7 separate regions of the Homo sapiens genome follow, and regions 2, 3, 4, 5, 6 and 7 are each linked to region 1. Evidence: promoter capture Hi-C in 16 types of primary human blood cells and fetal thymus (Javierre and others, 2016). All regions are on one chromosome and are shown on one strand. Each heading gives the region's core, a stretch centred on a gene start or on the middle of the fragment in contact. The rest is flanking DNA. Distances are from core to core; before and after follow the strand shown. Region 1 holds the start of LHX5 (LIM homeobox 5). Region 2 overlaps RBM19 (RNA binding motif protein 19). Region 3 overlaps RBM19 (RNA binding motif protein 19). Region 4 overlaps RBM19 (RNA binding motif protein 19). Region 5 overlaps RBM19 (RNA binding motif protein 19). Region 6 has its middle 46 kb from the start of LINC01234. Region 7 holds the start of RASAL1 (RAS protein activator like 1).

The links. Contacts are between HindIII fragments. The CHiCAGO score rates a contact against its expected background, and 5 or more counts as called.
Region 2: a contact is called between a fragment that was not itself captured here and the fragment with the promoter of LHX5 in region 1, in 1 of 17 cell types (megakaryocytes). The highest score is 6.2, in megakaryocytes.
Region 3: a contact is called between a fragment that was not itself captured here and the fragment with the promoter of LHX5 in region 1, in 4 of 17 cell types (endothelial precursors, M1 macrophages, M0 macrophages and 1 more). The highest score is 6.4, in endothelial precursors.
Region 4: a contact is called between a fragment that was not itself captured here and the fragment with the promoter of LHX5 in region 1, in 2 of 17 cell types (M0 macrophages and endothelial precursors). The highest score is 6.4, in M0 macrophages.
Region 5: a fragment that was not itself captured here is called in contact with the fragment with the promoter of LHX5 in region 1 in 1 of 17 cell types (M1 macrophages); the score reaches 5.1 in M1 macrophages.
Region 6: a fragment that was not itself captured here is called in contact with the fragment with the promoter of LHX5 in region 1 in 2 of 17 cell types (megakaryocytes and M2 macrophages); the score reaches 6.9 in megakaryocytes.
Region 7: a contact is called between the fragment with the promoter of RASAL1 here and the fragment with the promoter of LHX5 in region 1, in 9 of 17 cell types (erythroblasts, neutrophils, total B cells and 6 more). The highest score is 14.5, in erythroblasts.

The regions. Positions count from the first base shown.
Region 1 is chr12:113,469,869-113,473,477 of GRCh38, reverse strand. It overlaps LHX5 (LIM homeobox 5), which reads left to right and starts at 1,607. Exons shown (of 5, transcript NM_022363.3): 1 at 1,607-2,152. The coding sequence starts at 1,980. It overlaps LHX5-AS1 (LHX5 antisense RNA 1), which reads right to left and starts at 1,475. Exons shown (of 2, transcript NR_126425.1): 1 at 1,396-1,475. RefSeq lists an enhancer at 1,725-2,525. The HindIII fragment of the contact is 6,712 bases long and covers 1-2,264 here.
Region 2 is chr12:113,952,841-113,956,449 of GRCh38, reverse strand. RBM19 (RNA binding motif protein 19) reads left to right here. Exons shown (of 24, transcript NM_016196.4): 7 at 1,239-1,319. Among named protein-coding and RNA genes, the nearest start is that of RBM19, 12 kb to the left of the region's middle. The HindIII fragment of the contact is 3,342 bases long and covers 188-3,529 here.
Region 3 is chr12:113,932,316-113,935,924 of GRCh38, reverse strand. The region is part of intron 16 of RBM19 (RNA binding motif protein 19); the gene reads left to right. Among named protein-coding and RNA genes, the nearest start is that of RBM19, 32 kb to the left of the region's middle. RefSeq lists a cis regulatory region at 2,878-2,895, a silencer at 2,773-2,951 and enhancers at 2,814-2,958, 1,674-3,604, 3,208-3,609. The HindIII fragment of the contact is 1,497 bases long and covers 1,105-2,601 here.
Region 4 is chr12:113,894,024-113,897,632 of GRCh38, reverse strand. The region is part of intron 21 of RBM19 (RNA binding motif protein 19); the gene reads left to right. Among named protein-coding and RNA genes, the nearest start is that of RBM19, 70 kb to the left of the region's middle. The HindIII fragment of the contact is 3,949 bases long and covers 1-3,609 here.
Region 5 is chr12:113,872,189-113,875,797 of GRCh38, reverse strand. The region is part of intron 21 of RBM19 (RNA binding motif protein 19); the gene reads left to right. Among named protein-coding and RNA genes, the nearest start is that of RBM19, 92 kb to the left of the region's middle. The HindIII fragment of the contact is 5,903 bases long and covers 1-3,609 here.
Region 6 is chr12:113,817,573-113,821,181 of GRCh38, reverse strand. It overlaps a transcript of RBM19 not described here. Among named protein-coding and RNA genes, the nearest start is that of LINC01234, 46 kb to the right of the region's middle. RefSeq lists enhancers at 1,381-2,306, 2,307-3,234. The HindIII fragment of the contact is 1,778 bases long and covers 868-2,645 here.
Region 7 is chr12:113,134,225-113,137,833 of GRCh38, reverse strand. It overlaps RASAL1 (RAS protein activator like 1), which reads left to right and starts at 2,073. Exons shown (of 21, transcript NM_001301202.2): 1 at 2,073-2,436. The coding sequence starts at 2,372. RefSeq lists a silencer at 1,947-2,086. The HindIII fragment of the contact is 4,772 bases long and covers 53-3,609 here.

The sequences.
Region 1 (3,609 bases), core at 358-2,857:
CACCTTCACATCAATGCTTGCAAACACAGACACAAACACTCTTACGTGAATGCACACGTACACATGAAAACACCCTCACATTTATGCATCCTCAAATAAGCAAACACACATAGGCACAGACCAACAAAAATAAAAGTGCACACAGTGATAAACACAAACATTAGCAGGACCATACACAATTACAAACACACGAATCTGCACACACGAAAACGCACACGCAGAAATTTACTCACAGGATTGATGGTACTAACACAATAAACAGATGCAAAAATGGAATTCTCAAACAGCGAGTATACACTAACAAGCTCAGGAAACACACCCAAACAAACATTCACAGCCAAGTGCTGGCACAAACCCCTCCAGCTCCAGCCCTTGGTCCCAGGCCCTACTCCCTCAGCCCCCTTTCCAGAAGCGAAAGGCAAATCCTGGTTGCCCATTCCCGGCTTCCCCAACTAGGATCCCTGGTGGCCACGCTGGCCCCAGGGGAAAGGAGGCCTGGTCCCTTCTCCTACTCAGACCCACACACCCCCTCCTCACGCACACCTGCCAACATCCCCCCTCCCCCTTAACACACACACACTCTCTCTCCTCACACTCTGGGCGCCCTGCCGAGCACGGAACATACGTGCGCCGCTTCTCCTGCGCCCAATGAGGGGACGAACTTGCACACCCAGCCCGCACGGCGTGAATACAAACAGCGCTCTCATAGTCGCTGGTGTCCCCCGCCTCAGCCGTACGACCCACTCACCACAGTGCCCCATAGGCTGACCTGGAATCTGGAAGGTGCAGCGAGGAAAGGAGAGACGTGGTGAGTGCCACCTCCGAGCTGTCTGCGGGAAGACCCGTCCACCCTGAATCTCCCCCTGTCCACATCTCCCTCAGAGCCCCGTGAGCAGCGCACTCAGGCCTGAAACTCTGGAGTTCGGGACCAGGCCAAATGGCACCCCTCCTGCTCCCCCGCCTCCCCACCCTGGGCCTGGGCCTGGGCTCGGCGGCCGGGCGGGGAAAACTACCCAGGCCGCGCGGTCTCCACTAGCTCTCTCCATGAGAAAGGCCCGGCTGGGCCCCAGCCCCGTGTATGACAAAAAGAAGCCGGGGCCGGCTCCAGGAGCCGGGAGAACCGCGCTGACGCAGCTTCAGGGCGCAGAGGGGGCGCGGGGGTGGGGGAATCCAATCTGGGCTGGCTGGGCTGGAGAAGGGGAGCGAAGTGTGGGGCGTGGGGCAACTTCTGCAAGTTCCAGGGATGGCGAAGGGGGCAGGGGTACCTCCCGGACTAGGCCTTGGAACCCGTGACCCCCAAATATTTGTGAGGAGAAAGAGAGAGGAAGAGAGACGCAATTTTCGTTTCGCGCTGCCCCCGCCCCGTCAGCCCCAAACTGGAAGGTAAATACTTACTTAGCCTCCGAACCAGGTACAAGCTAATACTCAACAATACTGATGCCTTGTTTTTTTTGCTCTGTCCGGACAGCAACGCTGTAGCCAATTTAGATATGCTATAAATTTAAGAGGTTGCCATGGCCACGGTGCGCCCATTGGCCGCTGGGCCCCCTACGTGCAGCGCCACGTCACCAAATCTGAATAAGGATGCGCGAATTACGCGGCGACCAGACAAAGATGAGGATCCGGACCGCTTGAAAGTGGGGGAAAGTGCCGGCGCCTCCGCCACCGGGGAAAGCCGCTCCGCAGCGCCGAGGCCAGCAGCCACCCGAGATACCTGGGGAAGCCCGGAACAGGCGCCGGGGCGTGCGGCCCGTGGCATGAGGTTGTGAACGCCACCCGCCCCCCACCACCCCACTCCGGGCAGCCCAGCGCCAGGCCAGAGATTGCCCAAGGACTGGACCGGCTGAGTCTTGGTCCGGACCAGACTCGCCCTGCAGCTGCTGAGACAAGAGGCGAAGGGCAGCGGAGGGCCCGGCAGGCCCGAGGGCCAGGGGCCCAAAGGGAGGGCAAGGCGGCCGAAGCCGCCGGGGCGCGGGGCTATGATGGTGCACTGCGCCGGTTGCGAGCGGCCCATCCTCGACCGCTTTCTGCTGAACGTGCTGGACCGCGCGTGGCACATCAAATGTGTTCAGTGCTGCGAGTGCAAAACCAACCTCTCGGAGAAGTGCTTCTCGCGCGAGGGCAAGCTCTACTGCAAAAATGACTTTTTCAGGTAAGAGGCCGCGCCGCTCTGCTGCCTGCGCGCCCACCCTGCGCGCGCTCCACTGGGGCGCTGGGGAAGGGGATACCCCCATCCCCATCCCAGCCTCCCCGGATCACAAGCTTAGATGGGGAGCGGGCAGCACTTTGCTCTCCTCCTGTCCTTGGTCCAGGAAAGGTCCCGAGCCCAGGCGGAGGAAGAAGGACGCTGCTTCGCTGCCTCACGTTGGCTCGAGGCCGGCTCAGAGCGCTGGCGGGGCAGAGGGAGGAAGCCCTGACAAACTTGCTATCCACTCCTCTCCGCCCCTTCCAAGCAGCTGCAACCCCAAGACAGAAGCTTCAAGCCCCGTCCCGAGAGAGAGGAAGGATTTTTGCATGAGTTAGAGACGCCTGAAGGCTTCTCGCTCCAGGCAGAATGTGTGAGCCCATCGGCCGCAATCCCAAACAGAAACTTCTCAGCTCCAGAGGGGGCCCAGCGAGGAAGGTCTCCCCTGGTGATGGGAGGAGAGAACCTCCCCCACCCACCTCCCAACCCCTTAAACATTTCCTCCCATGTTGAAAAGTAGAAACGAAATCGAGGCTGAGAATCAGGACCTCTGGGGTCTAGACTGGGCTGTGGCACCTCCCCAGCCCCCCTACCCCTGTGGGCCCTGTGGCTGGCCAGGGCAGATCACCTCTCTGGGCCTCAGTTTCCCCAGCCTGGAAGCCACTGGAGTTTGGGGCAGCTGAGCCCTACCTGTTTCCTCTGGGCACCCAGAGCCGGCTTTGTGAACAGGAATTCCCCGCGCTGAGGAATGGGGGCGTGAATCACGCCACAGAGAAAGGCAGCCTGCCGGCCCCAGCGACTCCGCACTGAGAATTTGAATGGGAGAAAATGTCAGCCGCTCCTTTACACGTGTTAACTCCCTGGACCCGGAGGCCCGATGCCCCTAATGTAGCAGTGCTTGCAAAGTGCCTAATGATTTTTGATAAGGTGCATATGGCCAATTACGCTGCCGGATAAGGCCAAAAGTGACTTATGGCTTCTAATGCCCTCACTACATCAATGTCACCCAAATTCGCCCTGTTTAGAGACATGGGTGTGAGTAGATGTGGGGTCCCTAGAGTCCTGGGTCCTCCCCCACCCCACCCCCAACCTGAGCCTCACCCATCTCCTATTTCGGGGGAGGCTGGCTTTCTCCCTGAGCTCAAAGAAGAAAGAAAAGGAATGAGATCAGGAACGCGGGAAAGCGGGGATTTGAGAGATTCCTGTCCTGGCCTTGCAGGATCTATGATTGTCCTCTATTCACATTCCCCTGCTGCCTGCCAGGCCAGAGGTTTAGGGGGGCTGAAACTCATCCCTGCTCTCTAGGGTCCATCACTATGAGGCCCTGCTGTCCACAGCTCCTGATTAGCTCCAGCGGGTCCCAGAGCGGTGGATTGGAAAGCCTCTCCATTGGTACTGGAAATCAGTGGAAGGTTCCCTCCTTT
Region 2 (3,609 bases), core at 609-3,108, 480 kb before region 1:
ACCACCACACCCAGCTAATTTTTGTATTTTTAGTAGAGATGGAGTTTCACCATATTGTCCAGGCTGATCTTGAGCTCCTGGCCTCAAGTGATCAACCCACCTCAGCCTCCCAAATTGCTGGGATTACAGGCCTGAGCCACTGCACCTGGCCCCAGCCCTGTATTTTCAAATGAGATGAAAGCAAGCTTCATCCTCTTTTCTTTCCTCTTTTCCCTTTCTTCTTCCTCCCTCCTTTTATTTTCTGCCTCTTCTAATTATGCACTCTGTCCTTTTCTTCCCCCCCAAAATTGTATATTTCAGTGAGGTAGTAGAGTGTGGGGAAGTCAGAATTATGAGTTCAAATCCTAGTTCCATCATTTAGTGGCTGTTGGTCCTTGGGTGAGATACTTTACTTCCTTCAGCCTCTGAATTTTCGTTTACAAAAAGGCACTCATGGTAGCACTGCTCCCTGCCTCCGGTTTCTGACCCCGTGCCTAAGTATATGCTGGAATTCTGGAATCTTCAGGTTTCAGGAAGAGAACCCTCTGGAATGCAGCACCCCCAGCAGGGCTCACTCCCCTCTGCCTACCTTGTTACTAAATACAGGATAAAAGGCAGCACCCCACGGTCAAGCGCAGTCACATTTCTGCAACGCATGGACAAGACTGCTTGCGCTGCGTGAATCAGCATAAGCTATATATGGGCTCACATCCACTCAGGGCAGGCTTTGCTGGGAAGTGCATTCAAGTCGGGGCAGGTTTTGTTGCCATAAAGGTTACCAGAAACTTAGGTTTTTTCAGAGGTGTCTGGATTCCGGAGTTGTGGGAAAAAGGATCCTGAACCCATAATCCCCATGGGATTGTTGTGAAGATGTAGTAGATCACTGGCATCTGTAAAGTGCTTGGCTTAGTGTCTGGCACTGATAAGCCCTACATAGTGGTACTGACACCCCGTTCTTCAGGGCTCCTTCACATTCCCACCCTGCCCCTCCTTGTAGCCCCAGGGTCCCTGTCCAGGTGCCCATAGCTTGCCAGGCTCTGGTTCCAGCCCTCGTCTCAGGGGCACATGGAGACTTGGCATCACCTAGCCCCACCTCTGGCCAGACTCCATACACGGTGGACATTGATTCTTCCCAGCATTCCCCAGCTCCCCCTGGCGGCAGGCACCTTCTCTGGCACTGAAATGTCCCAGTGTGCCACCTCCTGCAGCTGTACGAAGGGTTAGTGTGGCCACTTCTGTTTGTTTTTGTGATCACTCAGACAGAGAAACCAGCAAACCAGAAGGAACCCACCACCTGCCACACCGTGAAGCTGCGGGGAGCCCCGTTCAATGTCACAGAGGTATGTGCTAACTGAGGACAAGGGTCGGCAGCCTGCGGGAGCAGGAGACGAGGGTGGGGAGGCCAGGAGCCTTTGGTGCATGGGGGCATTAGAGTCGGTTGAGGACATGAGCTGGAAGGAATTGGGGGCCAAAAAGGCTGAGAAATAACATCTCCGGCATCGTCAGGGTCAGGAAACAGGCATGGCTACACCAAGACAAAGGAGGTTCTGGTTTCACTCACCAGTACCCACACCAGGGTGGGCACACACTCTGTTAAAGAAAAGGTTGTGGGGGCAGTCAGCCAGTTAATATTTAAGACTTCGTGATCAACACGGTCTCTGTTGTGACTACTCACCCTGCTCTTATAGCAAGGAAGCAGTCTCAGAAAGTAGGTAAAAATAAATAAAACTTTAGTTACAAAAACAGGCAGTGAGCCAGATTTGGCCTGTGGACTGTAGTTTGCTGCCTTTGGGTCTGTAACAGCAGAAGAACACTTAATTTTCGTTCTTCGTGAAAGTAGTAGTTCAATATAGAAAACTCAAAACCATGTAGCTAAATAAAAAATATTTAAAAATTGCCTGTAAGTAGGATGACTACTAAATTATCATCTACACTAAATTGAGAGTGAGAGGGGTGCTACCCCAATGGGGTGCCAGGCTGTGGATGTAATTACCGCAGGTCTAACGACTCCAAATACAGTGACAACTCATCCCAGGCAAACTAGGGCTGCCCTGGCCAACACACTTGTATCTACCCAGTGACGTCCACTGATACATTTTGGGTGTGTCTTCTTAGATGGTTTTTGTTTTGTTTTCCTTTGTTTTTAGTTTTTATTATTATTATTTTTGTGTGTGTGTGTGAGACAGGGTCTCACTGTGTTGCCCAGGCTGTAGTACAGTGCTGCCATCATAGCTCACTGAAGCCTCTTCTTGGACGTTTTTGTCTTTGTATGTCTAAGAAGCAATCATTTACTGGGAACTCTTTGGAAACCCCTTTTTCCTCCTCATCATGGTATGTTATAGACCTCTTTGAATATTGAATATACTCTGCTACAGCAGCATTTTTTATGCTCATGCTCTTCCTTACTCAGGGTAAACTTCTGTAGGTTTACTCAGTCCCCTAAATTGGGACGTGGGAGTTATATCCAATTTTTTGCTGTTATAAATAATAATTCAGTTCCTTGGGATTAGGGGTGAGCAGACTTCGTCTGTAAAGGCCAGATGGTAAATATGTCAGGCTTTGTAAGCCATTTAATCTCTGTCACATATTCGTTGTTTTCTCTTTTTTTGGTAATCCTTTAAAATGTAAAAACCATTTTTAGCTTGCAAGCCATTCAAAAGCAGACCATGGTGATATTTGGCCCGTGGGCCATAGTTTGCTGATCTTTGCTCCAGATAAATATTCTGTGTAGGCAAATGTGTGTACAATTCTAAGGCTTTGGCACATAATATCAGTTGCCCTCTGGGAGCATTGCTAGTTTATGCTCGCTGTAGCAGAGTCTACAAGTGCCCATTTTCCTGAACCCTGGGTATTATTAATGTTTCATCAATGTGATAGGTAAAATTGGCATCTCATGTTAATTTATATTTTAAATTACTTGTAAGATGGATCATACTCTCTCACATTTGTAGATCGTGTATATCTTGTTGTCATTGTTGTTTTGAGACAGAGTTTCGCTCTTATCTCCCAGGCTGGAGTACAATGGTGCAATCTCAGCTCACTGCAACCTCCGCCTCCCGGGTTCAAGTGATTCTCCTGCCTCAGCCTCTCGGGTAGCTGGGATTACAGGCACCTGTCACCATGTCCAGCTAATTTTTGTATTTTTAGTAGAGACAGCGTTTCACCATGTTGGCCAGGCTGGTCTCGAACTCCTGACCTCGGGTGATCACCCGCCTTGGACTCCCAAAGTGCTGGGATTACAGGCGTGAGCCACCGCACCTGGCCAATATATCTTCTCTTTTGGAAAGTGCCCGATCATGTCTTTTGCCCTTTTTTCTCTTGAAGTCTTTATCTGTTCTGGTACTCTATGTTTATAAATATCTGAATTACAACTTATCAAACTTCAGAGTAGCAAGCATGTAGGTTTTATTAAACTCACTGAGTTGCTTGTAATTTTGTCAGAATTCTTTCAGTATCAACCATTCAGAAAATCACATGCTTTAATTAACAAAACCAAAACCACTAGGTGGCTACTTGCAAAACTAATACACAAAAACCAAATACTCAAGCTTAATGAGAAGTGAAAAAAGCCAGGTTTAATCCCAAGTATATACAATTATCTAGGGGGGAAACAGTGCCTTGAAATGCGGA
Region 3 (3,609 bases), core at 604-3,103, 460 kb before region 1:
AGCTGGGACTACAGGCGCCCACCACCACGCCTGGCTAATTTTTTTGTATTTTTGGTAGAGACGGGGTTTCACCATATTGGCCAGGCTGGTCTGGAATTCCTGGCCTCAAGTGATCTGCCTGCCTCAGCCTCCCAAAGTGCTGGGATTACAGGCATAAGCCACCACGCCCAGTCTAAGATTTTAGTGGAATAGACTTTGCTGTACCTAACCTCCCCTGCCTTGTCCACATTTCTCATTTCCTTGTTTCACTGTGTATCTTCAGGACTGGCTCAGCCAGCGCAAGGCATTCAGGAAGTGCCTGTCTGGAGGCCTGTTTCAATCAGGAAACAAAATCCTTCAGTCCCTTTGCGATCTGAGGACCCAGAAGCATCCCACATCGTTGGGGTTAATGATGATTGGTGTAAACCTTGTGAAAGCCCGACTCCTGCTCGTTTATGAGTTAAGCTCTCTCCACTCAGTTTGGATCAGGGTCTCCTTCAAAACCTGTGCCTGTTCCCATCAAAACAAAATTCTCTTCATGTCATCCTGGCTTGTTCTTAACTGTCTCCCCCAAATCACAGCTGCCTTGATTTTTACTTCAGTTACCACCCTTGAACCTAAGTAATGTTTTTTTTTTTTGGCCCAAAGCGAGTTCTCCTTTGAAACGCAGAGATCAGCCAGGGCTGAGCGGCACTGAAAACAAATTGGTGGAGGCCTCTTCCCGCAGCCTTGGGTGGCAACAGGAGGCAGGCTGGGGACACGTGGTGGCTCCCAAAGTGACCGCTTCCACCAGGCTCTTCATTTCCTTGTGTCCTGGGGATTATCCCTCTCTGCTGTCTTCTTTTTTCTCTAACACTTGTCACAATTTCTATTTATTCTGTTTATTTGTTACTTGTATTTGTTTCCTATCTCAGCCAGACTTTGAGCCGTGAAGGCAGGGAATGGGGCTGTCTCCTTCACTGCCCGGTACCCAGCACCCCGGGGGGCCCAGGCATAGGGAAGCTCGGTTCACAGGTGTCAAGGGAGTGAGGGAATGCATGAGAATCTGCCTCTCTGTTCCTTCGAAAGATGAGGCCGGGTCATATTTGTCTTTGTGTCCCAAGGCTCTGGCACACAGTAGAAGCTTAGTTAGGTTTGAACGTTTGGTTTTCGTTGTTAGCCCAGCCTCAGAACACAGTGGTGACAATAACACCATCAATCAAAATAATAGAGGGGGCTCCCATTTGTCCCCACTCTCACAAATGGCCCTTTATTTTATTTCAAATGCTTATCACTTCCTGGAATTGTGTCATGAATGGTTCCTTTCCCCGGTGTTGCTCTGTCGGACTCTGCCCCTGGAATGGCCACTCCACATGCCGAGACCCCATTCACCTTGCTCACGGCAGTATCCTAGCACCCATGAACGTGCCCCAGTGGCTGATAGTGATCAGGAAGTGTGTGTGAGTGAACCCAAGAGCAAAAGCAGCAGTTATGCCATGCTAGGCATGGTTCTAAGTCCTTGGCATCCTCATCATGTGAGGCCTAGAGCCCCTGGGGAAATGGCCCTGAGATTTCCAGTAAGCAGCCATTCTGTGACTGGCCAAGCCACCTGCCTCTCTGAGGCTCAGTTTCCATATCTGTAAAACGGGCATGATATCCGCCCCGCCCTCTGAGGGCGTGGTGGGATGTCACATGCACATCACCAGTCTTCCGCTGCTGTTGGTGACTGAGCAATATAAATCACAGTGCATCTTGGGAGGCTGAGGCAGGAGGATCACTCGAGTCCAGAAGTTCAAGACAAGCCTGGACAGCATGGCAAAACCCTATTTCTACAAAAAATACAAAAATTAGCTGGGCGTAGTGGTGCATGCCTTGTAGTCCCAGCTACTCAGGAGGCTGAGGTTGGAGGATCACTTGAGCCTGGAAGATGGAGGCTGCAGTGAGCCGAGATTGCACCACTACACTCAGCCTGGGTGACAGAGCAAGACCCTATCTCAAAAATTAAATTAAAATTTAGAAAAATATGGCACAGTGGATAGTCTTTAACTCACCATGGGCACCAGCCCCAAGCCAGCAGCCGAGCTGGGTGATCAAGATGGACACCACACAGATGCACAGACCCCCTTCCCCAGGAACTTTTGAGCTGTGGAGGACAATAGAGCTGTTGGGGGACAAGTGAGATGTCACAAGTAGTAATAGAAGTGGGCCCTGAGTACAGAAATGTCTGCATCACAGCACAGGGTGCATCACGGAGATAGCATGCTGTGGTTTACGGTCAGAGTGTTTTCCCACCCCCTGCCCGCGGGTCCCCCTGCTTCCTGGGTCTACATTGTAGGTTTGAGCATGTGTCCAACAGCCCCTACCTCCCAGAGGGGCTGCTTTCCAGGGCCTGACCATGACTCACACAAAGAAGGCCTTAGAGCCCGGCCGCTGGGCCTCCTTTGGCCCGGGAAGTTGTGCGTGTCTGTGCTAATTCCAAGCCCCGCTGTGTCCCGCGTCATCGGTGAATTCCCACAGAGCTGATCTCCAGGGCCTCCTCCTGCCCTCACTGCACGCAGCACATGCACAGCCCCTCCTGGCGGGTGCTGTTCTTTTCACCTGCTCCTCCCCCACCCCCACCCTCTTTGCATTGTTCCTGAAGCTTCACCAAATCCCCGACTCCCCCGTTGTACGAGGACAACGAGGGCTGGGGGGACTCAGCCAGCCCACAAAGCCCTGGATTTTCTCAGGCTCCCAAGGAAGAAGAGTAGGAGGGGAGTGGACATACCTTTTTTTTTTTATTTTACCCCCTTCCTTTCTGCAAAGCTCTCCTGTTCTCTGTACCAGTCTCGAGGGAGGGGGACAGCGTGTTTTATCTCCCCACAACCAAGACCCTCACCTCCAGATAAAGGGCTCAGAGTGGGGGGAGGTCCTGAAAAGCTGCTTGCAACTGATAACAGTCTTTGCTGTCAGCTCCAGCGCCGAGAGCCGGGAAAGGGGAGGAGGCCGCAGTAAATTCTGTGGCCTGATTATAATAAAGCCCCATGTGGCGATGCGTGACTGGATTTGATTGTGCTAACTACAGATGGAAGCACAGTTCCCCTGCCTCTCCCAACCCCCTCCAGCCCACCTTGCTTTTAGATCCTTCCCCCAACTCCCCCGCCCCCAGGCCTAGCCCTGATTCCTTTCTCACTTCTTCCCTCTTTTTCTGGTTCCTGGTGTTTTTGTTGGCAAACATCTGTTTGAGTTTCACAATACCTTATTTTTTTCTTTCCCATCTTTCTTTTGTCTCCCAACTTGGGGCCAGCAGCAGAAGTGCTTTTTAAAATGACCTTTGGCTTCATGGCCTTGGCTCCTGGCTGTCTCCACGCCTCTCTGGACACAGCCTGGCCTGGTGACTCGGGGAGCAGTAGCTGGCTGGCAAGGGTGCCCAGCTGTGGACTCGGACGCCTGGCACTGGCTGGCCTTCCTGGGAGCCTGAAGCCAGCAGCTTACCCTGCAGGGAGAAGGAGAGGGAGGGCCGAGGGCTCCCCACACTGGGTTGTCTTATCTCTCCCAGGGTTAGGGATTTCCAACATTTTCCCCTGGATTTCTCTCTCAGCAAGGCCTGCTGGGCAGTGTGGGTAGCAAGGGTAATATTAAGAACGAAACTGTTCTCTCCCAGTGCTCGCT
Region 4 (3,609 bases), core at 416-2,915, 420 kb before region 1:
GCTATATTGCCCAGGCCAGTCTTGAACTCCTGGCCTCAAGTGATCCTCCCACCTCAGCCTCCCGAGTAGCCGGGATTGTAGGTGCGAGCCACCACACCTGGCTAGATTGGTGTTTGAATCTTACCTCCTTCAGCTGTCACACTTGGACAAGTCATTTAAACACTCTGGGCCGGGTGCCATGACTCACACCTGTAATCCCAGTGCTTTGGGAGGCCAAAGTAGATGGATTACTTGAGGTTAGGAGCTTGAGACCAGCCTGGCCAACGGGGTAAAACCCCATCTCTACTAAAAATACAAAACTTAGCTGGGTATGGTGGTGGGCGCCTGTAATCCCAGCTTGGGAGGCTGAGGCAGGAGAATCGCTTGAACCCAGGAAGCAAAGGTTGCAGTGAGCTGAGATCACACCAGTGCACTCCAGCCTGGGCGACAGAGCGAGACTCTATCTCAAAAAATAAAAAAATAAACACTGACTGTCAGTATCTGCATCTATAAAATGGAGATCATAATAAATACTTGCCGGGTCTATTGGGAGGGCTCAGTAAAGTAACAAGTAAAGCCATTGGCCCAAAGCCATGGTTCCCAAACTGTGTACCAAGGCACCTCAGGGTGCCACAGTGAACTGACACCTTTCCTGTGGGCTATTTCAGATTTCTGAGGAAAAACAGCCACATCTGTCAGAGATGGTGTAAACTGCTACTGTCAAGTTGTTTAGCCCTAACTACTTAATAAACAAACTGTTAGGTATTTCTTTCGGCCTAGGAGTGCCATGAAAAGATCCTGCAGCCTAGTGTTTGGTGCAAAATCAGCACTCAATAAATAGGAGAGGTTCTTTTGTTGTAATAGAGCCAGAAAGGCTGTGCTGGCCTCAAGATTCCATTTTGTTTCGACTCTTCGTACATTTCACCATCGTCTTGGAGGCGCTGGGATTGGTATCCAGGGTTATTCACCATTCCTCCCGCCTTCCCTCTCCTCACCTCTGTTCTCTTGTAAAATGCATTTCAGAACATGGATTTCTCAGCCCAGATTTCGGGAAAAAACCCAGCCTGCCTGCAGCCATCTCAATGGGGTGTCACAAGAGCATCCAAAACATAAAAGTCTCAGAAGAAAATTAATTTTCTTCACTGTAATGTCTGTGCCTCCCAGTGTTCCTGGCAAGAGCTGGTCCTCCAGGTTGGAGCCAGGGTGTGGCTCCCCTCCCATGGGGGGCGGAGCCTGTGGGGACAGCCTGGGCCTGAACCTTTAAGGCGGACATGCCCCCGAGCCCAGAAATTCCCTGGAGCTCTAAGCACCTCACGTGATGGGGCCGCTGCATTCCGGAGAATTTGCCTGGTTTTCCCTGCTCTGGGGCAAGCGAACAAAGCACATTACAGGGAAGATAGGTGGACCCAGGGCCCAGGATGTTTCTCTTTGGTTTGCTTTGTTTTGTTTTCACTTCCATCCTCATTCTAGCTACCTCCAGCGACCTCATGGATTGGGGTGCCCTTTAGCTGACAGTTGACAGGTTAAATTACAGAAAAATGCTAATATGTGGTCATCTTTGACATTCAAAAACAGCCTAATTATAATCGTTCATCCTTTATTGTACCCCTACCATGCACCCAGCACACATGAGCTCTCTCTCCCTTTCTCCTCTCTACATATATATCTATAGATATGTGTATAGAGAGATACATAGATATGTACATGTATATTTGAGAGAGAACGAAATGTATATATTGGATTTTTATATATACACATATATAAAATATATCCTATATGTAATCCTATATATAGCTATAGTATATATTCTATATATAATCCAATAGATATATAGTATATATCCTATATATAAGATTTTTTCTTTTTTAAAAAATGTAGTTGCACAATTAAAACATGAATATGTTTTCCTTGCTGAAAGTAAAATTTAAGGCCAAGATATCCTTTCATCCACTGCCACCCAAGTCTTGTGCCACCCTCCTCCCTGGAGAAATTCATGCCACTCATTTGCGAATCTCCTTCTAGATCTTTGTCTTTGCATTTTGTACATATGTGAACCTGTAGGCGACGGATGTGATAGTGTTGTGTCCATTTAGAGAAAATGATGTCGTGTTTTCTGTATTGTTAGGCGTCTTCCCCTCTCTGACATGTGTCTGGCAATCTTGCCTATTTCACCCATGTAACTCTCCTCATCTTTCATAATGCCGTACGTATCCTTCACTCTCAGGAGGCCAGGCAGCCCATTTCACAGATAAGGAAAGTGGGTTTGGAGCCGGGCATGTTGTATGGTTGAGAGGTGGTCCTGACTGTTTCCCTCCCAGCAGCTCACCTTCCCTGCCCCATCATCCCTCGTGGACTGACACACACTCTCTCCCGCCCAACCAAGATGAGGCATTGGTCTTCCTGGCAGGCCACCTTGCAGGTTAATGGAGAGTTACCATCAATACCATAGATGGCCACTTTCCAGGGAATTCAAATATAATAAAATATACTTAACATGGGAACTCGATGGAGTGTAATTGAAATCTTTGATGATCCAGAAGGTGATTCAGGACCTGCTGGGCCCTGTTTCATCCTTGCAAATATCAACTATCACTGTGCATGCTGCACAGAAGCCTTGATGAGTGAAGTTCCCTGGCTGCTGGCCTAAGTGGTTCTCATTGTGTGCCACGTCCCCTGCGATGGGCCTTGTCCTCTGGCCAGAAGAGCAGGCTTGGGGAAGTGCTTTGCTCAGGTGAAGGACAGCCCCTGTCCAATATCAAAATGGTCAGGCATGTGGCTGTCCCAGTCGTGGCCTTAGTGTCGTCGCACAAGGGTGTGTCCCACTTGACTGTCTGCAAAGCACTTCAGCCAGTGCTTGGACTCTGCTCTCAGATAGCACAGGCTTTGAGTCCTAGCCCAGACCTTCATTTGGAGAAGTAGATTTGTAGCTTATTATTCCCTTTTCAGGAAAATGCAGCTCTGTAAGCAGGTAGATTCCTCATCTACTTCCAGAATAATTAAGACCTTAATTCATCCCTGCAGAATTTGAGAAAAATGTCAGTTGAAAGAAAATTACATTGCAACCCCCAGTCTGAGGAGTATGTTTATAAAGGGGCACAAAACTTCAATCAGAGCTCCCTAGCAACCAAAGCAAGAAAGGGGAGAGGCACTGTGCCTGCTAACTCTTACTCTGCCACCCAGCCCTCTAAAGAGATGCCCCTCCCTCAGAGGGTGCCAGGGGTTCTGACAGCCTAGATTAAGCCTGTTATTTCTCAGGCTGGAGAGGGCATGTTCTGTTTGTATTTTGGTACCTAAAACTTCAAGATTAACAAGGCTTAGCCTCTTGCAGCATCAGTTTTACTCAGTAATATAGCACAAACTTATTTTTTGAATGTTACTGCACACATACTGCCCTGTTGTGGAACAGGATGCAAAGTTGGCATGCAGGGTTAAAATAAGCACAAGATGACTTTGACTCACACCCCCTGAGCCTCTGAAGTGTGTGCTCCTCTCACCTACCATTCAGGGGAAGGGGAAAGATGTGTTGCCGGAAAGTCTTGAGACATCTTGGCCTAACTCATAAGTGGAGAGAAAGAGGTAGAAAAGGGAGCTATGAAAGAGAGAAGGTGGTGCAGACCAGGAAAAGGTGGA
Region 5 (3,609 bases), core at 361-2,860, 400 kb before region 1:
TTGACTTTTCCCTCTGCGTGAACTTTGCAAATGACGCTCTTTAACGCACTTGTGAGATAAACAGTGGCTGTTGCAAGGGGCCTCCTGACCATTGATTTTTCTCGTCTTTCTCTTCACTTCTGCCTCAGGCTCCTTGGTTTTGCTACACCCCAAATCCTATCTGGTCCTAACTGGGTTTCTTATTAAGAAAAGAGACTCCCACCTACATACACCAAGATGTCCAAGGGCTGTCCCGACTTGGGCTGTCACATTTGCGTGCTCTGACTCACATGTTCTGCCTTTTCCTATCACCACCAGGAACCAGCCTTCCAGAGTCCATTCCTCTCGGTCCTGGACTCCAGGCCACGCACAGACCCGATTAGACCTCTTGGGCTCTCAGCTTCTGACTCACCATCCAATTCTAAACTTTTGTAATTGAATCGAGTTCTTTGTTGGTTTATTTGGCCTCAAACAAATGGTCCAACTCGCAGATTCATTTCAACCCTTCCCTGCATCTTAAAACTCACCAGTCATCCTGAGCTCGGCTTGTTTTATTGTTGTTTTCTTTCCCAGACTTTTAAAAATAATATTTGTCCCAGCAGGGTGATTCGTTCTCCTCCCCATGAGCACTGGCAGGCTCTGCGGCATGAATCACTCGCTCCCGTGCTCCCTGTCCCCTGACATGTCCCTGGGAGGCCTCCAACGCTTTCTGTCGAACGGTCCGCACCGTGGCTTCGCCGCTTGCATCTTCTGCAGAGGTGTCTTGGCTGTCATCTCCTGGTTGACAGTAGGCCTGGCTTTCTTGAGAAGCTCAGATGTTGAAGCTACTCAATTACCTGAAGTACACCCCAATCTGTACCCCACTGGTCTGGAAAAGTGGTCCCCTCATGGCTGTGACCTCTTGGTCTGGGACTTCCCAGGGAGACTCAGTGACCATGCCCGCTCCCTCTTTTCAGCCGTTGTGTAGGGCCATTTGGATGCTTTGGCCTTTTGCCAAGAGGATGGGGAGCATCTGAACTGGGCTTTCCAACATCATGGGGGTTCTGGAGTGTTCCTCCTCATGGCAGGTGTCAGAAACCTCTAGAATGCTAGCTCTTCAGAAGCCGCCTTCCCTATCCATCATCATCTCCTCAGCCTCTTTTTCCACTTCTGCCATCATTTCCCAGTGGCTGGCGGGCTCCAGCTAGAACATAAGGACTGAGTTCAAGGGCTGAAGCTGGTTACTGTCCCCAGGGTGGGGCACAGTGTGCCAAAGCAAAATCCACAGTCAGACAGACCCACACGCAAGTCCTGTGACCTCAGATAAGACCTCCCCTCGAGGTCTCACATGCGTCCTGGGAGGCCTGCCGCCCAGTGGGTCTGCTCTGGGCCTAAAGGGAGGCAGCGCGTGTAGAGCATTTGGCATGGCCAGGGCAGGTGCTCAGCAAGTGCCGCTTCCTCCCACTCCCCGTTTCTTATTTCAGGTATTGAGAGCCCGATCATGAGAGGGGCCAGAAATCAGAAAATCCAGGAAAAGACAAGCATCCATTAATAACTCCATTCATCAGCACTCCACAGACACTTTTTAGTGGGCACCTACTGTGTGCCAGGTGCTGTTGGAACTGTTCTGGGTGCCGGCCATTCAGTAGTTAGCAAGGAAGACCAACCATAAACAAATAGAGGGGAAAAAATGTGCAATAGAATGCAAAGTCCCATAACATCGAGGTGACAAATGAAGCAGGGTGACAGCAAATGCTAGTCGTGTGCAGACAAGCAGCCTGGGTCGGAGCACCTTTGAGGTGGCACCCTCCACCTTGCTGCTGTTCTCTGTTTCCATTTAGCAGGGCGGTGACTGGGTTTCTAGGTTCATCTGTTTGTCTCTGTGCTAAGCAGGTCTCCAGGGTGATGGCGAGATATCTGGCTCTTGGCCCTCTGGGGCACAGCACTCCCCACTTGGTCCAGACACGTGTAACTCAGCTCATCACCCGCACCATGCGTCTCATTTCTCCCATCACTGAACAATGAGGGGTTTCCCCAGTAAGTGACTTTGCCACCTTATACCTTTAAGTATCAGCCCTCTGAAAATGTTGACCATTCAGTGGAAATCTTCCTAAAATACACAGTGCCTTTTCTTTTTTTTTTTTTTTTTTAATTTATTTTTTTATTGATAATTCTTGGGTGTTTCTCACAGAGGGGGATTTGGCAGGGTCATGGGACAATAGTGGAGGGAAGGTCAGCAGATAAACAAGTGAACAAAGGTCTCTGGTTTTCCTAGGCAGAGGACCCTGCGGCCTTCCGCAGTGTTTGTGTCCCTGATTACTTGAGATTAGGGATTGGTGATGACTCTTAACGAGCATGCTGCCTTCAAGCATCTGTTTAACAAAGCACATCTTGCACCGCCCTTAATCCATTTAACCCTGAGTGGACACAGCACATGTTTCAGAGAGCACAGGGTTGGGGGTAAGGTCACAGATCAACAGGATCCCAAGGCAGAGGAATTTTTCTTAGTGCAGAACAAAATGAAAAGTCTCCCATGTCTACTTCTTTCTACACAGACACGGCAACCATCCGATTTCTCAATCTTTTCCCCACCTTTCCCGCCTTTCTATTCCACAAAGCCGCCATTGTCATCCTGGCCCGTTCTCAATGAGCTGTTGGGTACACCTCCCAGACGGGGTGGTGGCCGGGCAGAGGGGCTCCTCACTTCCCAGTAGGGGCGGCCGGGCAGAGGCGCCCCTCACCTCCCGGACGGGGCGGCTGGCCGGGCGGGGGGCTGACCCCCCAACCTCCCTCCCGGACGGGGCGGCTGGCCGGGCAGAGGGGCTCCTCACTTCCCAGTAGGGGCGGCCGGGCAGAGGCGCCCCTCACCTCCCGGACGGGGCGGCTGGCCGGGCGGGGGGGCTGACCCCCCCCACCTCCCTCCCGGACGGGGCGGCTGGCCGGGCGGGGGGCTGACCCCCCCACCTCCCTCCCGGACGGGGCGGCTGGCCGGGCAGAGGGGCTCCTCACTTCCCAGTAGGGGCGGCCGGGCAGAGGCGCCCCTCACCTCCCGGACGGGGCGGCTGGCCGGGCGGGGGGGCTGACCCCCCCCCACCTCCCTCCCGGACGGGGCGGCTGGCCGGGCGGGGGGCTGACCCCCCACCTCCCTCCCGGACGGGGCGGCTGGCCGGGCAGAGGGGCTCCTCACTTCCCAGTAGGGGCGGCCGGGCAGAGGCGCCCTTCACCTCCCGGACGGGGCGGCTGGCCGGGCAGGGGGGCTGACCCCCCCCCACCTCCCTCCCGGACGGGGCGGCTGGCCGGGCGGGGGGCCGACACCCCCACCTCCCTCCCGGATGGGGCGGCTGGCCGGGCAGAGGGGCTCCCCACCTCCCAGTAGGGGCGGCCGAGCAGAGGCGCCCCTCACCTCCCAGACGGGGCGGCTGGCCGGGCGGAGGGCTGACCCCCCCACCTCCCTCCCGGACGGGGTGGCTGCCGGGCAGAGAGGCTCCTCACTTCTCAGACGGGGCGGCTGCCGGGCGGAGGGGCTCCTCACTTCTCAGACGGGGTGGTTGCCAGGCAGAGGGTCTCCTCACTTCTCAGACGGGGCGGCCAGGCAGAGACGCTCCTCACCTCCCAGACAGGGTCTCGGCCGGGCAGAGGCGCTCCTCACAT
Region 6 (3,609 bases), core at 507-3,006, 350 kb before region 1:
GCAGACATGGGCTCTGTATTCGGATCTGCCTGGGCTCCGTAACAGTCCACCACTCTCCAGCCTCGTGAGCCTCGGCAAGTGACTTAACCTGCTGAGTCCTCAGTCTCCTCATCTTTAAAATGGAGTGATGCAAGTAGCATCTCCGTCACAAAAGCGTTATCAGGCCCAGGCAGCTGCAGGCCCCTGCCAGGGCTCACACAGTGAAATGATGGGAATCAGGGCTGTCCAACCCTTCCTGCGTCACTGCCTTCCCTGTGGCCAAAAGAAAGCTGGTGAGCTGGGGAAGGTTCAGGAACTGCAGGAGAGTGAAAGGTAGCAAGAGGAGGGAGAGCTTCCAGCCACTCGCCAGGCCTGGCCTGGAATTGGCAGTGGGGAGTGAGGCAGCCTAGAGGCCATATACTGAGCCTGGCCCCTGCACCCCTGCCCCAGGCACGCACTGTTTGGAAGGGGCAGATCTGTGAGCACACAGGAGTAGTGGAGTCCACTCCCACAGAGATCTCAGGGTGCCCCTTCATGCCGCGCCCACCAGACTGCACCCTCATCTCCTCTCTTCCGGCTCAGCTGTCCTCGTGCAGCCAGTGTGGCCTGACTGATCCGTGAGCTGGATCATGTCAGTCTGCAGCTTCAAACCCTCTAGGGCCTCCCTGACGCATGGAAAGTCGAGTCCCGCTGCTCACCCCAGCACCGAGGCCCCACCTCACCTGACCCTGCACTCGCTGTCCCGGCCTTCCTCCCTGCAGGCTCCCACCCCAGGGCCCTCGAGCTGCCTCTTCCCTCTGCCTGGGATGCCCTTCCCTCACATTCTTCCTGCGTGGCGCCTTTTTATTTTCCTTTGAGATCTTAAATCACGCTTGTCCAACCCAAGCTTGGGCTTTGAATGCAGCCCAACACAAATTTGTAAACTTCCTTAAATTTGCAATTTTTTTTTTTTTTTTTAGTTCATCAGTTATCACTAGTGTTATTGTATTTTATGTGTGGTCCAAGACAGTTCTTCCAGGGTGACCCAGGGAAGCCAAAAGTTTGGATGCCCCGGTTTAACTTCTGCTTCCTCACTGAGGGAGACAGACTCCTGATCAGTTCGTCTGCAGTAACCACACCCAGCTCCTCTTTACACCCAGCCCCAACCCCCTATCCCCCATCCCCTGTCCCTCTCAGTCACAGCACTCAGTACAGGGGACAACCTGGAGTGTGAGCAAGATCTCAGTGACCCAGAGCCTTTTACCCTGTCAAAAATAACTGTTTTAAACGGGAACTAGGAAAGCAATTAAGATTTTTGTTACAATCATCATCATTGTTCTAGAATGCAGTAAAGTACAGCCAGGTAGCCATAAAGCGGAGCTCGGGAAAAGTCATTTGCCTGGCCCAGAGGAGGGGCTTCATCTCTTCTTCCTTTGGAGAAGAGGGACTGGTGAAAGCGTCTTACGAGAAATTCCTCCATCCAGCATGTGGGGGTTGAACTGGGAGACTCTAAGCCTTTGAGCCAAGGCAGCAAGGGACTGAGTCACCGCTGTCACTGGGAGGGGGACACGGGAGCTTTCTGAAAGGCGGCTTCGGTTGTTTTTGAAGCAATGATGGGACGTTGGTAGACACAGACACCCAGAAGATCTGGGAGAGAAACTCCAGAAATAACCCACAGAGGTGGCACTGAGGAGGGAGCACTCCTCCAGGGCGGTGAGCCTCCTGACCCGGCTCAGGACTGACTGCTGCAGGGGGCAGGAAACTGCCTCAGCCACATCTCAGGGGGCTGTGACCCTTCCCTGCCGATATGGTCACCAGAGAGCCGGGAAAGAGAACCATAACAGGCTGGACCAGAGCACTTGCGTAGGAAAGGAGAGGTGACACCAAGAGGCCAGAGGGGCCAAAGGGACACAGGGAGGTGGGAGGTCAGTAGGACACGTGCCTCAGAAAAGCCAGAGGCACACATCTGGATGAGGCCTGTGACCCGGTGTTCAGAGTGTGGCTCAGTTAGCTGGGAGGAACGGGGACAGGCTGTTTCCAGAGTGGAGGGCTGGCTGGAACCGCATCTGCTGTCCTCACGTCCGTCTCCCACCCGCTGTGGGTCTCAGGGGCCTGGCCCCTTGAGCTGTGTCTCTGAAACTCCCTTATCAAGAGGCTTGTGTTCAGTTTGGCCAGCAGTGGGCACTAGCGGGCGCCTGGAAGGCTGGTAGAAGAGAAACTCCAGGCATCCCGCCCTCTCCCTCTGTCCCACGTGGCGTCTCCACCAAGGGTCCACCCCTGGATGGGTGAGGAGGGCCCTGGCATCTCTACTATAGGATACACACAGTCAGACTGCAGGAGGGAGATGGGTGGTCAGACAGGTCCTGGAGAACAGACAGGGGTGAGGGACAGTGGGGCCTGGAGGAGGGACAGGAGTGAGAGACAGTGGGGACGGGAGGAGGAGAGCGGAATGCACAGGCCCTGACTCCAAAGGCCTGCGTTAGAATCTCTAGGCTCTCAGTGTCTCCAGGCCTTGCGTTCCATGTCTTTCAAATGGGTGCAGGAATTCCTGCCTCATTGGATTGGTTAAGACAGAAACAGAAGGTCATGAATGGAAAGTAGTTAGCAGACTGTGTCATGCCTAGTGAGTACTTAGTAATGGTAGTTGCCATCATTATTGTGAACATAACTTCAAAACAAGGCAAGCTTGTGGGGCTGCACCCAGCAGATGTCAGGCCAGCTGGGCCCACGTCCAGAGGCTGGGGCGGGATAGGGACTCACAGGGCGCTGCGCCATGTTGGGGAGGAGCCTATGATCCAGGAAGGAGCCTGTAGGAGGTGCCCCCCTGCCCACTGGCCCCAGTAGGCAAACCAGCACCTGGCTCTTCCTGCACAGAACCAAAGTTCAAGCCCAAATGGGCCAATGGTTGTGGGGAAACAGGTGAGCACCCCCACAGGAGCAGCTGCCTGTCTATTGCTGTGTCTGTGTGTCTGTTCCTAACCCTTTCTTTTTTTTTTTTTTTTTTTTTTTTGAGACAAAGTCTCGCTCTGTTCCCCAGGCTGGAGTGCAGTGGCGTGATCTGGGCTCACCTCCCTGGTTCAAGCGATTGTCCCGCCTCAGCCTCCCAAGGCTGGGATTACAGGTATGCACCACCACGCCCGGCTAATTTTGTATTTTTCATAGAGACTGGGTTTCACCATGTAGACCAGGCTGGTCTCGAATTCCTGACCTCAAGTGATCCACCTACCTCGGCCTCCCAAAGTGTGGGGATTACGGGTGTGAGCCACCACGCCCGGCTAATTTTTTGTATTTTTAGTAGACAGGGTTTCACCATGTGGGCCAGGCTGGTCTTGAACTCCCAACCTCAAGTGATCCACCCACCTTGTTCTCCCAAAGTGCTGAGATTACAGGTGTGAGCCACCATGCCCAGCCTGTTCCTAACCCTTTCAACTGGGGGGTCTCAAGTGGGTGAGGACTCCATGGCCACGGCAGCAGAACTGTCTCTTCTGAAAACCAGACTCCGGGGCCCCTGGGTCAGCACCTCTAGGTCATTCCACAGACTTACACAGTTTAAAGAAAGAGCCAGCGAACATGGGGTGATCCTGGGGTGCCACTGGGATCCCAAGCCAGGCCCGGAGGTCTGCCTGTTTCGTCCCCAGAAACTTGAGCTGG
Region 7 (3,609 bases), core at 824-3,323, 340 kb after region 1:
TGTGTGGTGGGGGGCGGTGTGGGGCGGGGGGCAGGATTCCCGTCTTAAAGCTTCAGTTACATAGCAAATACCTTAAGTACCATTCCCCCCACCACCTTAGGTGGTATATTTTCTTTGGAGAGAATCTGGGGTAACTGATAAAGATCACAGTGGGCCAGGCATGGTGGCTCACGCCTATAATCCCAGCACTTTGGGAGGCTGAGGTGGGTGGATTGCTTGAGATCAGGAGTTCAAGACCAGCCTGGCCAACATGGTGATATAAAAATACAAACTATAAAAATCTACTAAAAATACAAAAATTAACCGGGCATAGTAGTGGGTGCCTGTAGTCCCAGCTACTCAGGAGGCTGAAGCAGGAGAATCACTTGAACCCAGGAGTGGAAGTTGCAGTGAGCCAAGATCGAGCCCTGCCCTCCAGCTGGGCAAAAAAAAAAAAAAAAATCACAGTGGGATGACTCCTTTGGGGCTATTACTGTTCTGGATCTAACCCTGGATTACCCCTCATGCCCCGCTGAGGATGTTGCAATACTTCTAAGCCTTGGAGCCTGTTCTGCTAGGTCCATTTCCCAGATGGGATTAACTGAGACCCCATCTCTGGTGGGTCAGAGACTCACCAGGCAGCCACCAGCTGGGGAAGGAATTCCAGGGCTCTGAGTTCCTCATCAGCCTGTCTGGGTTGCTGGGTGGGGAGTCAAGAAGGGAGACTGGGAAGCAGACCATTGGGCTGCTGACGGATCCAGGAAGGGCACTCCTGGTCTCACCGGTCTGGGCGTTGGCTCCCGCACTCAGTCTGCAGGGGCACTCCCATTGGTGCCTGGCCTTTCTAAGAGGTCTTGGGCAGGTCAACAATGAATTCACAGGGAGAAATAAGTGTGCGAACGGATCTGTTCTGGGACAGGCCCTGCCTGTCATATTATCTCATTTAAAATCAGAAAAATGTACAAACCTGGAGCCACTGGAGCAGAGAGAAAGGAAAGAAAATCTCTACCGGAGTGGAAGGGCATCCTGGAAGCCTTCCCAGGAGAGGTGACGCGTGGCCCACGCCTCAAAGGACAACAATCAGAATATCAAACACTTTCTGGACGTGTATTAGGTACTTGTCACTGTCCTGAGACTTTTATCTTCATTAACTCTTTTAATTCTTTCAAAATCCTGTGACTGAAATGCAATGTCATCCTCACTCAACAGATGAGAAAACCAAACCAAAGCACAGAGAGGTTGAATGGCTTACCCAAGTCCAGACAGCTACCAAATGGCAGAGCCAGGATTCGAACCCCTGGAAGGCAAATCAGTTACTGACTGTGAGACCTCTGCCAAGTTATTTAATCCCTCTGAACCTCAGTTTCTTTATCCATAAACTGCGGATAATGGGGTAACAGTGGAGTAGTGTGTAGTGCACATCTGGAGACAAAAATGAGCTAATCCCAGTAAAGCGCTTAGAACAGTGCCTGGCACCCATGAAGTGTTCAAACAACTGTAGATGACTTTTTATCATCGCTGTAGTGGTTATCTTCAAGCCTTCCCCTCCCCCATCTGGCCGCGGCTTCCTCCCCCGCAGTGCCAGCCCGTGACGTTAGAGCAGAGTCTGGGTTCTGTGTTTAACTGGAAACTAGAACGAGATGGAAGGGGATGTTCAAGGCCCCTCCCTTGACTCTGAACGGACCCCCAGGGAACATGCGACCCTCTCTCTGGCGACGCCTCCCACCCACCACTAATACTTGCTCCTGGACCGGGGGGCGCGGAGGTTGGAGAGAGGAGGCAGGTGTCTGCATGGTAGGCAAGGAGGGGTGGGGGCGGAGAGGTGTGAATATGTTGGATGAGGGACAGGCGGGGGCACAGACCATGTCTTTTAAGCCCAATGCCAACTCACCAGGAGCCAGCGGCCACGCCCATCAGGACGGGGGCCCCTCCCCACCTGGCGGTGCACCCTTGTCTCCGCCGCCCGTGCGCTCTGGCGCGCATGACTGGGGTGCCGGTAGAGGGCGCGCGAGGGGGCCCGGGGTCAGGTGGGGGACCCCATTGGAGGCGGGATTGTGGGGAGGTCCCTGGGCCGCCCCTCCCGCCCCCTGCCCGCCCAGCCTGCTTGTCTGGAGCTCCAGACGCCTCGGCAAGAGCCCGCTGCGCCCCCTGCGCGCTCCTCCTGCTCGGAGCACGGCTCCTACCTGTAGAGTCCGGACGGGCGCTCCCTCCCCGGGCACCTACACCTTCTCCTCTTTCGGAAATCTCCCATCCAGCTACCCGGGTCTCGGACAGGCGGCACTGGGACCACGAGGCAGGGAGCCAGGCTTGAAGCAGGTGACATGTAGACGTCCCCTGGTCCAGCCTCGGAACCTGAGCGCCCTTCTGCCTGGAAAGTTTGTGGCTAGGCGCCATGGCCAAGAGCAGCTCCCTGAATGTTCGCGTGGTGGAGGGCCGCGCGCTGCCTGCCAAGGACGTGTGAGTACTCCTCGGGCGCTTCTGGGTGAGGGGCGCGCAAGGCCTGGGGTGGGGCCGACGTCGCCCTTTCCGCGTGCCAGGGCGGGTTGGCAGGAGGGCGAGGGGTTCTTGTCCAAGACTGGTCTTGGGGCAGTTCCGCTTTAAAGGGGCGAGAGGCCGCATGCCCATGGCTGTCCCGGTGGGAGGGGGGCGCCTAGAGTTAGCAGATGCCCCGCCTCACCCCCGGGCAGGGGAGGGGGTGTCTTTGTTCCCGGGATGTACTAAAGGGGGTCGTCCAGAGCTGAAGAGGGGATTAGAGGGCCATATTCTGTCAGATCTGGGAGGGGAGAAAGCGGGGGGTCTCTTCCTTAGTCCAGGCAGATGTTGGAGGTGGCTCCTCCAGGCGTGGGTGGGGGCCTAGCAAGGGAACCCTGGGGAGGACCCTTGGAGAGGGCCTGGGATCAGATGAGCCCTAACATCCTGTGTGGATCTGGTGCTTAGGTTTGCAGAGTGTCACCAGGTGGCCCTCCAGGGTCCTTTTGACCCCAAGCCCTGAGCTCCCCAGTCTTGTGGCTCCCAGCCTCGTGTGGGCCTTCCCCGGGTGCTGAGCTGCTTGAAGAGCCAATTCCTTGCTGCGACCCCCTCCCCAGCCAGGTGCAATGGGACTGGGGGACCCTACGGCTCCCTTCACTACTAGTCCCAAGCTATGCTTCCCCCAGGGCTGAGTCAGCAGCTGCTGAATCAGCAGAATATGGGGGGCGGGTTCCCCCTCCTGCTTGGCATAGTGCCCAGAAGGGGCTCTGAGGGCCTTAGCACCTGCGACAGGTGTGGGATCCTCTGGAGGACATTTGTTGTGTGACCTTGAACCTGCTTCTCTCTGGGCCTTGGTTTCCCATTTGGGCAATGAGAGCTCTGGACCGGAGTCCCCATCTGGTTGCCTGGGGTCTCCCATCCAGCTGGGAGGGTGGAGGACCTGTTAGGAGTTCCCCTGTGGCCCAGGTGAGCAGGAGCATGGATTGGGAGCCTTCACCTGTGTCAAGATTCAGTCTTAGCTCTGTGCTGATTCCCCAAGGTGTGGGCTCCCAGAGAGGACTTTCCTGCCTGATTTTATGACATTCCCAACCCCCAAAACACTGCAGCTGCGTCAAGGGGGCAGCTGTTGAGAGCAATTTTTGCCACCCTTCATCCTCATTG